Linked DNA regions of Homo sapiens: region 1 is linked to region 2. The links are contacts of gene promoters, found by promoter capture Hi-C in blood cells and fetal thymus (Javierre and others, 2016). All regions are on one chromosome and are shown on one strand. Each heading gives the region's core, a stretch centred on a gene start or on the middle of the fragment in contact. The rest is flanking DNA. Distances are from core to core; before and after follow the strand shown.

Region 1 (6,470 bases), core at 2,082-4,581, 240 kb after region 2:
TTTCATTTTCCTTGCTGGTTAATCTAAAGTGCTTAATCTTAAAATGTTAACTGTCAAAATAATAGACCTTTTTTCCCTCCATAAGAATAACTTGAATTTCTTACATATTTCCTGTCAATCATTCCATCTAAACTGGGTGTGCATAAATTGTTCCACCACTGTGACTCTCTCTTAAGTTTGTAAGTTTGGACAGTGTTACTCACCCCTACCACAAAAAGGAAATAAGATCATATTCTGAAATGGATTTACATTTCTATGCTTATAGTCAGAATGTATTTTTAGTGAGGGGAAGATCTGTTACACAGTCAAATAACTGTTTGAGAAAACAGAGTATTATGGAATACATCAATGTGTTAGGGATAGGAAGTAAAATACCACAGAATTTATTAATCAATGTTACACATACTTCTTCCTTAGGTGAATTTTTTGCTACTCAGGCCATTACCTTTTGTGTTCACATATTAGTAAAAGCTGCACTTTTACTTTTTTTTTTCTTTTTTGGAGCAAAAACTTTAATAGGCAAGAAAAAAGAAAGGAAGAAGAAAGCAGCTCCCTCGTACAGAGACGGGGGGGTGGATTTGAACAAAGAGAAAACCCCCCAAAGATGCACTTTTACTAAAAAATATTATCATTAATTCTTTGTTATATATCCTGGCATCCTATAATGTGTATGACTAAGTTCATGCATTGACATAAGCAAACACAGTGTTTCATTAATGAAAAGAAGACTTTGGACTGAGAAAAAGCCCACTGACATTGTCAGCCAGTTACTTCAGTGTTATATTCGAGGTGGTTTGATATTATTTTTTGTGTGTTAAACACAAAAGCCAAAATGTAAAAGTCACAGGACTACTTTAGGTCTTACAATCCAGAGTTACATGGTCTCAACAGTTGTTCTTTTCTATTTTAATTTAAAGCACTAAACAAGAAACTATTCACTAAGTTTTAGAGCTGCATTTTAAACAGGCCAGCCTTTGAATTTCTAATGTTTTTATGAAAGCTTCAATAAAAAGCTGTGGTTTGAAGTAAGAACATATTATAGTTTTGTAAGACAATTTCCAGTTGGTATAATGAGAACCCATATAATCTAATTGCTTAACCAGTAACATTCATTTTTACTATTATATAATCACCTATGTTCTAAGTAAATTTTTATTAAATACAGTTCCAATACAGATATTAGGAAACTTATTTTATGCTACTGTAATACTAGAACATTGTATAAGTGCTCAAATAGTTTTGTCAGGGCAATTCCCTTCCACGGGAATTTAAAAATTATTTGTGTCATAGATGAATGAGAAAACTTTAATAATAATCCATGAGACAATAACACATACACACACACACACACACACACACACACACACACACACACAAATGATCTAAAGGTCTTATTCAATATTGTATGCCTTTTATAAAATTAAGCTGATTCTCCTAGATTGTAAACTGGGATATAATTAAATACCAGAGTAAAAAATTGGGACAGCTACTGGAATTACAAAAATAATAATAAATTAAATAAAAGAATGGTTTAAGTCCTGGAAAAATTCAATCTAATGTTATAATTATAAAGATAGCAATGTGAGCATTATATAACACTAATAAGAATACTATGTAAGTTTTACATAAATAGAACTCAAAATAGGGGCTTAAAATATTTCCCAAATGTAGAATTTACCAGGTAAGTAAAGTGATAATTTTTAATTTAAGATATCTGGTTTAATTAATAATAATAACTTGTAACTTTAAATCTACAAGAGAGCCTAAAATGGGTCAGCACTGGATCAGTGTTGCATAGAACCTGACTTTAATTGTCATTTTAAAAAAATCAATAGAAAGCAGTGGTTCTCAAATTCTAGCAGGCATCAGAATTGGGCTTGTTGAGACTCAGATTAGGGTTCACAGTTTTTATTCAGTGGGCCTGTTATGTGGTCTGAGAACAGGCATTTTTAACAAGTTCCCAGGTGACACTCAGGCTACTGCTAAGAAGGCCCCATTTTGAGAACCACTTTCTGAAGTACAGCATAATGCGTTCAGCACTTTCTTTTATAAAGCCTATCATCACATTCTCAAAAGACACTTATTGACTCTGGAATCAAATATTAATGAATTTGGGAATTACATGCAAGCACTATCATTTTATAATCACTAAAACATATTTTCTGATAACTATGGATACACGAATAATTTGTCCTGGGATAATATAATCATGTTTCATTATAAATGGTATTATATAACTTATAATTGGTTATACAGTAACTATTGCTTTGATGTGAAAAAGTGAGTATGTTTTCCTTTTCCTAACTGGTGCTTCCTTAGTCTACTCAGTTCTGAAAGACTTTCCATACTTTAAAGGAAAAAAGAGAAGGCAAATCTACTTCTAGAAAGAACTTATTACTACATCTGTGACATGTAAGTATGTTCTGGTGAAGAGACAACAGTAAGGGCTTGTAGAAACAACCACTTTCATACAGTTTAATATTTAATATTAACAACATCCTAGTCTGCTCCTTGAAAGGAGGATGCTGCTTTACATTCCTTTGACTTCCCCACCAAGTCTCCAACAGCCTGAATTGTAAGAGGTCCCGTACATCATGGATGCTTCAAGGGCAAGGTCTGTTAATTATTCCTCAGTAGCCCCAGCAGTTAGAAGAATACCAGTTGCATAGTAGGTACTTAAGAAATGTTGACAGACCTGGACACAAACCTCATGAATAGTACATGCATAATGGATATTTAATGATTTACTCTGAAAGACATCCTAGTTCTTTTGAATATACAAGTTGCTTTTTCTCAGCAAGTTCATCCCTTGCTATAAAATAAAAGATGGGCTAGTGTAGGTGTTTGTATATTAAGGCAGATAACTTCACAAGTGTCCAACTGGCCTTATGCTACTAAGTTTGCCCACGTCTATGATACAGGAATTTTAATAAAAATGTTTTAACACTAAAACAAGTTTTATTGTGTACTTTTTAATAATTTAGATATGACTTTGTACACATAAAATATATTTTTAAAATATGCACATCATCATTGTTACTTGTAATATAAGCTATAGGTTTAATGAGAATAGAATGGTGGGAGACAAATTTTACTCTGTTATGGCTGTAAGAAGGAGCTTTATAACCCAGTACTAGGACTTCTGAGGCTTAAATCGACTTGTATATTGCCCCTAAAAATGTTTCTACTAATTTCTACTCCTAAAGTATATTAATTTAGATATTATCTTTGTTTTTTCATCAGCTCTGAGAATTGTATCCAAAAACATACGAGGGAATTAACTGCATCCATTCAGTGACAACTGCACCATTACAAAGAAAGGATAGGCATAAAACTCAATGACCAAAAAGCTATGAAGCAGTTCCCTCCTTCTCTCACTGACCGGTAACCCAAACACCCAGGAAAAAACAATTGCAGAATATAGGATATGTGACAGGGGTGAAATTGCAACAGCATCATAAGCCCAAATGTCTCGATAAAACTAAACTAATTTTTTCCTAATATAATATGAAAGACCACTAATGACAAAACACTTGAGTAATAGAAGTCATTCAGAGACTCAGAAAGAAAGAAAGAAAGAAAGAAAGAAAGAAAGAAAGAAAGAAAGAAAGAAAGAAAGAAAGAAAGAAAGAAAAAAAGAAAGAAAGAAAGAAAAGAGAAGAGAAGAAAGGAAGGGAGAAAGGGAGGCAAAAAAGGGGAAATAATAAGAGAAAAAAAAGAACAAAAAAAGAAAAAGTCCTACTGCTCTGCCTGTTTTTAATACTGACACCCCATAAACAAATCTGTCCCTGGGATATGATACAGAGGCCTGGAGTCTGTGACCTCCTTTCTGAATCTATCAGGAGACACAGCCCACACCAAAACACCAGGAGTGTTGCTTCTGCCAAATATCCTTTACTAACTTCAAAGAAAGAACGGGGAAAGAGCTGTAATAATGCTTAACACGAAATACTGCCTTTCTGCTTCCTTTCCTTTCCCCATAGACTGAATGAACTGTCATTATAAGACAACATACTGCTGAGTTAATGTAACTTAAAAATTTACAGCAGGTTGTATGCCTGGAGGCACATTATGGGGCCACCTGTAGGCATCTAATTCCAGTGAAAATAATAAATAATTGTGGAGCATTCCTCAGAGTCTAGAGAGAGTGGATAAGAATCGTGTTGCTTGTTCACTCCAACATGGATTCTGTTGTGGAGGAGGATTAGAGAACTGAACTCTCTCCAACAAATGAGTAATCCTTCTCCCCACAAAAGAGTCCGCTAAATGCTACACCAGACACCTGGGTGCCAGATCTACACAGCCATTTTTGTGCACTTCTGATAATCCACCTGCAGAAATTGCCACTTGGCAATTGCTTAATATAGCACGTTGATCCATTTGAGGACTTTTTTTAAACAGTAAAGAAAGCTATTTTGTTTGTCTCTCTGTATGCTGTTTATCTTTTTGAAACTCCTCCTCACATTTTGGCAAAGATAGTGACAGTAAGAATATCTGTGATATGCCTCCAATCACTTATTTGGGAGAAATTAGTATGTGTATTTTAGCAATGCTCAGCAACCTTGACCTTTTTTTCACTGGAAAGAAAAATAAATTTACTACAGAGCTGCTTTTTTTTTTTAAAAAAAGAAAAAAGAAAGAAAAGGCCAAAGGATTTGTTATCGTGCTTTTGCCACAAGGTAGGTGGGTTAGTATTTATCCTGTGACTACTCAGAGTATGCATGTTGTTTATTTTAGATAAGATAAAATATTCTAAGATAGAGAAATTTTACATATATGTGTGTCTATACATATATAACATGAACTTTTATTAAGCAGGTTTCAAAAGATAGTCTAATTTTTGTTCAGTTGGGTTATAAATTACTTATAAACTTTACTAATGTAGTCCTCATCTTACAGCCACTGCAAATACGGTTTGGGTTTAAAATCTATGACAACCTTTGATCATAACAATCACATGGTTTGGAATTAAGAAAACTAGATTGAAATGATCATGTAAGTAAGTAGTGAAGATTGGATGCTCGGTGGTATTCAGGTTCACATTTCCTTTCCATTTGTACTACACGAAGGGTTAATAAGGTTTGCATAACCTTATTCTTTGAAGGCTTTTTGGCAGAGGCAGACTATTTAAGGATTGCTGCCAAAACAGATTTTAACCCTTTTAATCATACTGTTAATAACCACATTGTGCACGGTACAGAGCATACTGCACATAAGGCAATATCACTCTGAACACAGTTTGACCTGATACCCAATCAAGGAAAGGTTCCTAGAGACGCTTGCCATTTTGGTTGCTATGGTGAGTTTCATATTTTGTGGAAACCACTGCTAGATGTCTTAAAATAGAACTTTGTCAAGAAAAACATTGGTCCAGTGGCATATGCTGGCAGAGCCTACCAAGGTTGCTCAAATTCCCTTCCTTTGTTTTTCACTCTCCCCACTGGGGCAACTGTTCCAAGCATCAGCCCACTAGTCTGGCAGGCAGAGAATCCAGAAACTTGCTGCTAATTACAATGTTGACAATTCCCAACCTGTTTACTGGCGCCAGCAATCAAACCGCATCCTCTCGAGTGAACCAAAAAGCACTTGCTGGCTTTAGCTTCCTGAGGTTCCAAGCTGGCTATATTAATTACTGTTAACTTAAAACTGTATGTTGTACAGAAGAAGCTTAATTAGCTGGTATGAGGATTAATATCTATCCTTTACACAATTTAAAACATTTTGTTCTTGGCCAAATTATGTGAATCCATAAAATATTTTTCTTTGGACAAAATATTGATTATTTTAGGTGTGGCTTCTCAGTGCCAATTTTTCCACTGGATTATTTTCAGTTGAGCAAGACAATAGATTTTAAAAAGTTAGTCTGTCTGTCTATCTACCTACCTATCTTGGGATTATATCTACAACCTTTTTAAAAAACTTTAGAAAGAGAATGAACATAGTTATTTACAGTTATTGTTTATAATTAATAAAATAGGAAAACCTATTAAATGGGATTAAATGGTCAAAAGGATATCAACTTTCTATCTTGATGAATTTAAAACAAAGATAGTTACACCATTTTTCTAGTGAACCCTCAATGCTATGATAGAGGAATGATTTGGTAGTCATATGGCACATAATGGTGTATGTATCAATGACAGGCTAGATATACAATGGTGATCCCATAAACTTGTAATACTGTATTCCTACTATACCTTTTCTATATTTAGAGTGTTTAGATTCACAAATACTTACCATTGTGTTACAATGGGCTACATTATTCAGTATAGTAACATGTGGCTGTACAGGTTTCCAGCCTAAGAGCAGTAGGCTGCCATACAGTCTAGGTGTATAGTAGGCTATACCATATAGGTTTCTGTAAGTACATTCTAGGTTGTTACTACAATGCCAAAATTGCCTAAGGATGTGTTTCTCAGAATGTATCCTTGTTGTTAAGCAACATATGTACGAGGAGCATGCTTCACGAT
Region 2 (6,271 bases), core at 1,383-3,882:
ATTTTCAAGGCACATATCTGATAAGAACTTGAATCCATAATATTGTTTAAACTCTCAAAAATAAATAATAACAGAAACAAGCCGACCAAAAAAAATAAACAAATGTCCTAAACAGACACATTACCAAATAAGACATACAGATGGCATAAAACACATGAAAAGATATTCAGCATCATTCACCATTATAGAAAAGCAAATTAAAAACGTTAAAGACTGATCATAGATGTTTACAGTTAACATATATTACTTCCGTTTTGTTTTTAAATCTCTATTTTAAAAAGCTTGTTTGACCTGGATTCCATTCACCTAAGGGTACATATTATCAACATGACTTACTACCATTGATATCAATCTTGATTGCCTGGCTAGTTAGTATTTTTCAGGCTTCTCTTCTGTAAAGTTACTCTTTTCCAACTCTTTACATATTATACTTTTCGGAAAAAAGTCACCACGCTTATTTCACACTTAAAAAGTGGGAAGCCATGCTTCACTTATTTCAGGGCAGGGTACATAGATTTTTAGTACACATATCTTTCACATCTTTCACAAGTCAGATTTATCCCTAGTACTGTATAATTTTTATGCTATCTTAAATGGTATTGCTTTAAGTTTTAATTTTTAATTGTTTGTTGTTAGTGATTAGAATATATTTGATTTTTGTATATCAATCTTGCAATATACCTAATCTTGTTTGTTCTAGTATCTTTTTGTAGATCACATTAGATTTTCTTTGTAGAGAACAAATAAGAGTAGGAAATAAAAATAATTTTACTTATTTCCAAAATAATAATAATGTGAGAAAGCAGTCTTAACTAATGGGATGAGCACAGAGTCCAGTTAAAGTCATACTTCTTTATGTAAAGTTACCAGTGTTGGGTAACTTCAAAATGGGTGGCAGAAAAATTTACATGAGAAAATAATTATTTTTAATTTCCTACCCTCTCTAAAAAGACATTTAGCAATGGGAGGCAGTTTACTACATATTCACCATATTTAATTCATTCATTCAACAAATATGCCTAGCTACAAATTTCATCAAATTATTTTATTCTATCATGTATCAATTTTCTAACTGCTAAAAGTGTATAATTTATAGTGTTAGAATGATAAATAAATACATAATTAACTACTCAACATTTAGTAACTGATACTAACTGTTAGCTATATGCTGATCTTGCTAACAGAATACATAAAATACGTTTTAAAAGCAAAATAACATAGAATGGAGACTAAAGATCATAATGCACATTGACGCAATTAAAAACAAACATTCCTACATAAACTCATTTCTATAATTTTACCTTTGTCTTAGCAACTTCACTTTTTGACATAGTGAACAACTCATATTTCACATGTACTCACCATTGTAGCTTTTTAAAAAATAATGGACATACTATACACACTCCTATATTATTTTATATTTCAATGCTGAAATTTTAATTAACATATACATATACTCAATAAAAACAATAAAAAATATGACTCATTCTCTGGAAAATTTCATTATTAAAATTACTGTTATTTTATAATGATAACATCTCATTTTGTTGTGCCCTAGGTATAATGAAACACTCTTTTTATTATAATAAAATGCAATAAAAAGTGTTCTTCCCTGTGTTACTGCTGTTATTTTGAATTATCCTTATAAATTTTCTGATAATGAGGGTAGGCTATCATCAAAAGATGCCTCCATTAAAATATAACAATGATGGTAATAGCTTAAAACTTGTATTGTACAGCTGAAAATTCATTTGTACACATATCTCTTTTCATCCACATACCAATTCTGTTAGGTGAATATACTTAACCCCATTTTACAGATGTATCCCCATTTATATGACAATGATCATAATAGCTTAAAACTTTTATTGTACAGTTTAAAATTCACTTTCACACATATCTCTTTTAATCCACATACCAATTCTGTTAGGTAGGCATTATTATTATCCCAATTTTATAGATGTAAGTACTAAAAAGCTAAGTTGTTTTCCTTGTCCTAAGCAACACAGCTAATTAGGGAAGTTAATTTTTCTCCACTGCTTTTAATCACATTAAACTGATCCTTCTATTCAACACATGAAGTTAACATTCTATGAAAATAAAACTGGAATCTCTGAGTCTACATTGATCACAAATTGAATGTATCCTCTCAATACACTGTTTTAGTCCTTTATATCTTTGATAGAAGTGAACATCCTAATTATGCCCATGAGTTACATATATGAGATGCCTTCACCCCACTTCAATAAAACTCTTTCTTAATGCCAATATAAAAAATACTCTACATTAATTGGTAATTGTGAAAAGAGACTCAGGGAGAGAGTCTGAATCAACAAAAGAGGAAAATATAGGAAGGAAAGGGAAAGACAAAGAAGGAGGGTGAGACAGAGAAGAGAGAACAAACATCCAGGAGTAGTGATGTGAATTATTTGCTTAGTTACCACAAAAGTAATAATTACACTAACTCTGTGGGAACAATGGTAATTTCACAGTAGCTCACGTTACTGTTATCACCTTATATCCTGATAACTGTGAAATTAATTTGTGGCACTACTGTATGTGTCGGCCATAAGCTGTTCCCTTGGTAACAGTATTATGCTACCATAGAGAAGGAATGTTTGGCAGTAAAATGGGCAGCAGCAAGCTGATTACACAGGGAAAAGCTTCTATCTAAATACACATAGCATAACAATCACCCCTGGAAAAACTACATGGCTTACCAAAAGAGGTCTCTCTGTTCACTGTCCATTATCTGTTGACTGAACTAGTTCAAATGAATAACAAGTAATGATCAAATTGCCAGTTTATATTTTACAACAGAGTCTTATCTTTAAAAAAATGCAAGGAGGAAATACAAAAATGTAATACATTTATCTTGCTTTCTTTTCTATTTCCTCCCCTGAAATTATTACTATGCTATTGGAAGCCATACAAACACATATATACACAAATATACATATGCTTCAATGAAAAGCAGGCATGCAGCTGACAGCTCGGCAACCCTGAGGTATAAACAAAGATACCAGACATATTTTTTGAAATAATTTTGCTCAAGGAAATTCATTTCAGTAGGAAGATCAGTTACTCTGCTGTCTCCTACCTACAAAGTTACAGAAGGAAAAGTTCAACATTTGGCCAAAAGGATAGTAGCTTACATTTCTTTTTTTTCCTTTTTTCAGCACAGAATTTTGAAGAGAGAATACACTAAAAGGGAAGAACATAACTACATGACATCATAAGAAGTCCTGAATTAGAAGCGTATATTTGAAAGGTCATGCATCCTGAGCTGCCAACAGCTTAACAACCAGAGGCAGAGGCCAGCTTTGCCAGCTCACTGCTTCTACTCATCTTTCATGATAGTAGCCAGGCTGAATATAGTTCCAGGATGATAATGAATTGGCTGGGCATACTGTTTATATTAGTATGTATGTTCCTGTACTAAACCAAGCATCATGAGGCCAGCACTATTTTGCCATTTTTCAGAAAAAAAATATGAACCCTTCAAAACATAGTAAGCCTTTTTTAAAGTATATATTTGATTTTGAAATAATCAAAATATATGTAGGGATATGACTGCATCCTAAGATTTATGATAAGTTCTGATGAGTAATATTTTCTTTCTACATGCAAGGCAAAGTTAATAGTAACTAGAAAGTCTTTATTTGGCATATCATAGATTTCTGTCAACCAAAACAACTAACTCTGGGGAACATAACGTTCTGACAACTTCAGAAGAGTTAAGTCACAGACAAAAGTTTATTGGATCTTAGTTGGCTCCTACCCACCAATTCTTTCTTTTCCAAGTGGAACATAATAGATTTTCAATATTTGTTAAATAATTGAAAAAATATCCTCAAAATTCTTTTTTGGCCATCTTCCCAACAAGAATATGGTCCTAACCTATATGTAGAGTCCTTTGCTGTGTCATCTATTTCTTCAGAATTATTCTCCTAATTCATATGTCTGGATAGTCTCTCTGAATTGTTATAGAAAATTAAAAATGTGAACTATGAAATTAATTTTTAAACTTTTATAACCATCTAGTCATACACAGAATAACCACAAATATAAACATGGTTTCAAAGAATTCCCTGTGACAATCAAGCAAATAGTGAAATAGTTTCTGCTATTATGAATTTATCACTTACTCAGTGTATGACCATGGGCAAATATCTTCACCTCAATCCTGTGAGGCAGGTACTATTATTCTACCCATTTTAAGTATAGATTTGCAATATTTGTTAAATATTCAATATTTGTTATTATAAAATGAGTATACTAATAGTACCTACCTCACAGTATTGAGGTGAAGATATTTGTCCATGTACGTACAATATGGGCATAATAATAGTACCTACCTCACAGGATTGTTATTAAGAATAAATAAGATAATCCATACAAAGTATTTAACACATTATTGAAAAATTAAATGATCAAAATAAAGCTTGTTGTTATTGTTATCTTTTAATAAATGCATCTAAAGTATTTTTAAATGTATTCACTTCAGTTATTTAAAGTTTCATCTGCTGTATCACAGAGCACATATATGTTCAGAAACATTTGTTAAGTATCTATGTACCAGATAATAAAGGTGGTATTGAAAAAAGAATAGGCATTGTAACAGGCAGACAGGAGTATAAAGTCCAGCCTTGCCACTTATGAGACTCCCATCTTCAAATTATGGAACCTTTCTGAATCTCCATTTTATACCTATAAAAAGGGGTAGACATTACGTCTCTACTTGCTTCTTATCATTAAATTAAAATTCATATTCCTTTCTATGGCAAGGAAACGAGTCCTGTATAGTCTTGTAATTCATCTCCCTCCACCAAACTTCATCCACACTGACTTCTTTAGGCCAAGCTTGTTCCTATATCAAGGTGAGCCTGGAAGCCTGTACACTGTTCCACAGTGGTACACCTCCTCTAGCCCTATAGAATGCAAAATGGAAGCACAGAGACATTATACAATGGTTAGCCAGTCACATTACATCAAGTAAAAACAACAAGTTACCATGAAGTTTATTTATTGGAGTGGCTTCAGTATTTCTTGAGAAACACAAATGATGACCCTGATTTGTATGATCAATCAGCAAGTTTTCAAAAAGGTTACTGAGTATATGACAGTAATTTCTAGAGCCAAAGATATACCCGCATGAATAAGCTTTCATCCTGAAAAAAAAATCACCTTCTGAAACTCCATGCTAGTTATCTGAAATAATAAAGGTGAAGTACAAATTATGTGATCTATCATAACCTGAAATAAACATATGTTGCTACTCTGTGATTTGGTCTTTATCCCAGTCTGACCCATTTCTTGAGACTGTTACCTCAAGATGCTCTCCCATGGAGCTTTCACTGAGAATACTTTAATCCATTTTCTTAAAAATCCATAACAAAATTACTAAGATCTCAATGTCTTATCAAAACTTTTTTTTGTCTCAAAAATGATACATGAAAAAGATAATCTTCAATAAATGCAGGTAAAGTATTTTATACCTGCAGCATTGAATTGTTCCACTGGAGGGTAGCAGGGGGAAAGAAAGTTCACGTTGCCTAGAACAGAACCTTGTTGTTACCTTAAAGTGTGTTCTTTCTGAATTTTCTAATTCAATCATCATCTCTTCCAATGCACATCTCCAAACCTCCCATTTCACTTGTTCAATTCCCCCATTAGTAGTGATATTTATGCTCCTCAGGATCTCTGTGTAGCAAAGTCCTTTAGCGAAGGCACAAGAACTAGACTATAGAAACATTCAAATTCCATATTTGCCATTTATTTTTTGTATAAAGGTAGATGTCTTCATATTAACTGTAAAATTAGAGTAATAATGGTAGTTTAAATTTAAGTAATAATACCTACTTCATAGGAGTGTCACAAGAATTGAGTAAATATATGTAAAATATTTAGAAAAGTTGTTTGCACATAGTAGGTGAGCAACAAATTATAGCTATTATTATTATTGACTTCTCTTATTTTTTCTTATCTATTTACTTCAAGTTTTTACTGTTCAAATTCTATTTTTCATCACTTCAAATAACTCTTTATAAAGAGCCCCCTTGCAGTTCTTCCATCATGCCTTTCTTAGAATATCCTAAGTCTAGATGAAAATATCCATGTCCACGGTGAAAACCTATGCAGAAAACTAGCCTCATGGTCTAACCTCTGTCACAGATCGAGCTCTCAACACTGCACAGCAATGGAACTTAACTTCTTTGGTCAAACTCCCACTCTCCCATTCCCCAGAATAACTCATTAAAACTTTCCTCTT

What was found. Contacts are between HindIII fragments. The CHiCAGO score rates a contact against its expected background, and 5 or more counts as called.
Region 1: a contact is called between a fragment that was not itself captured here and the fragment with the promoter of DPYD-AS2 in region 2, in 2 of 17 cell types (M1 macrophages and M2 macrophages). The highest score is 6.7, in M1 macrophages.

What each region holds. Positions count from the first base shown.
Region 1 is chr1:98,030,473-98,036,942 of GRCh38, forward strand. The region is part of intron 3 of MIR137HG (MIR137 host gene); the gene reads right to left. Among named protein-coding and RNA genes, the nearest start is that of MIR2682, 12 kb to the right of the region's middle. The HindIII fragment of the contact is 4,667 bases long and covers 999-5,665 here.
Region 2 is chr1:97,794,289-97,800,559 of GRCh38, forward strand. DPYD-AS2 (DPYD antisense RNA 2) reads left to right here and starts at 2,633. Exons shown (of 3, transcript NR_046591.1): 1 at 2,633-2,784; 2 at 2,927-3,007; 3 at 3,180-3,763. The region is part of intron 3 of DPYD (dihydropyrimidine dehydrogenase); the gene reads right to left. The HindIII fragment of the contact is 2,382 bases long and covers 280-2,661 here.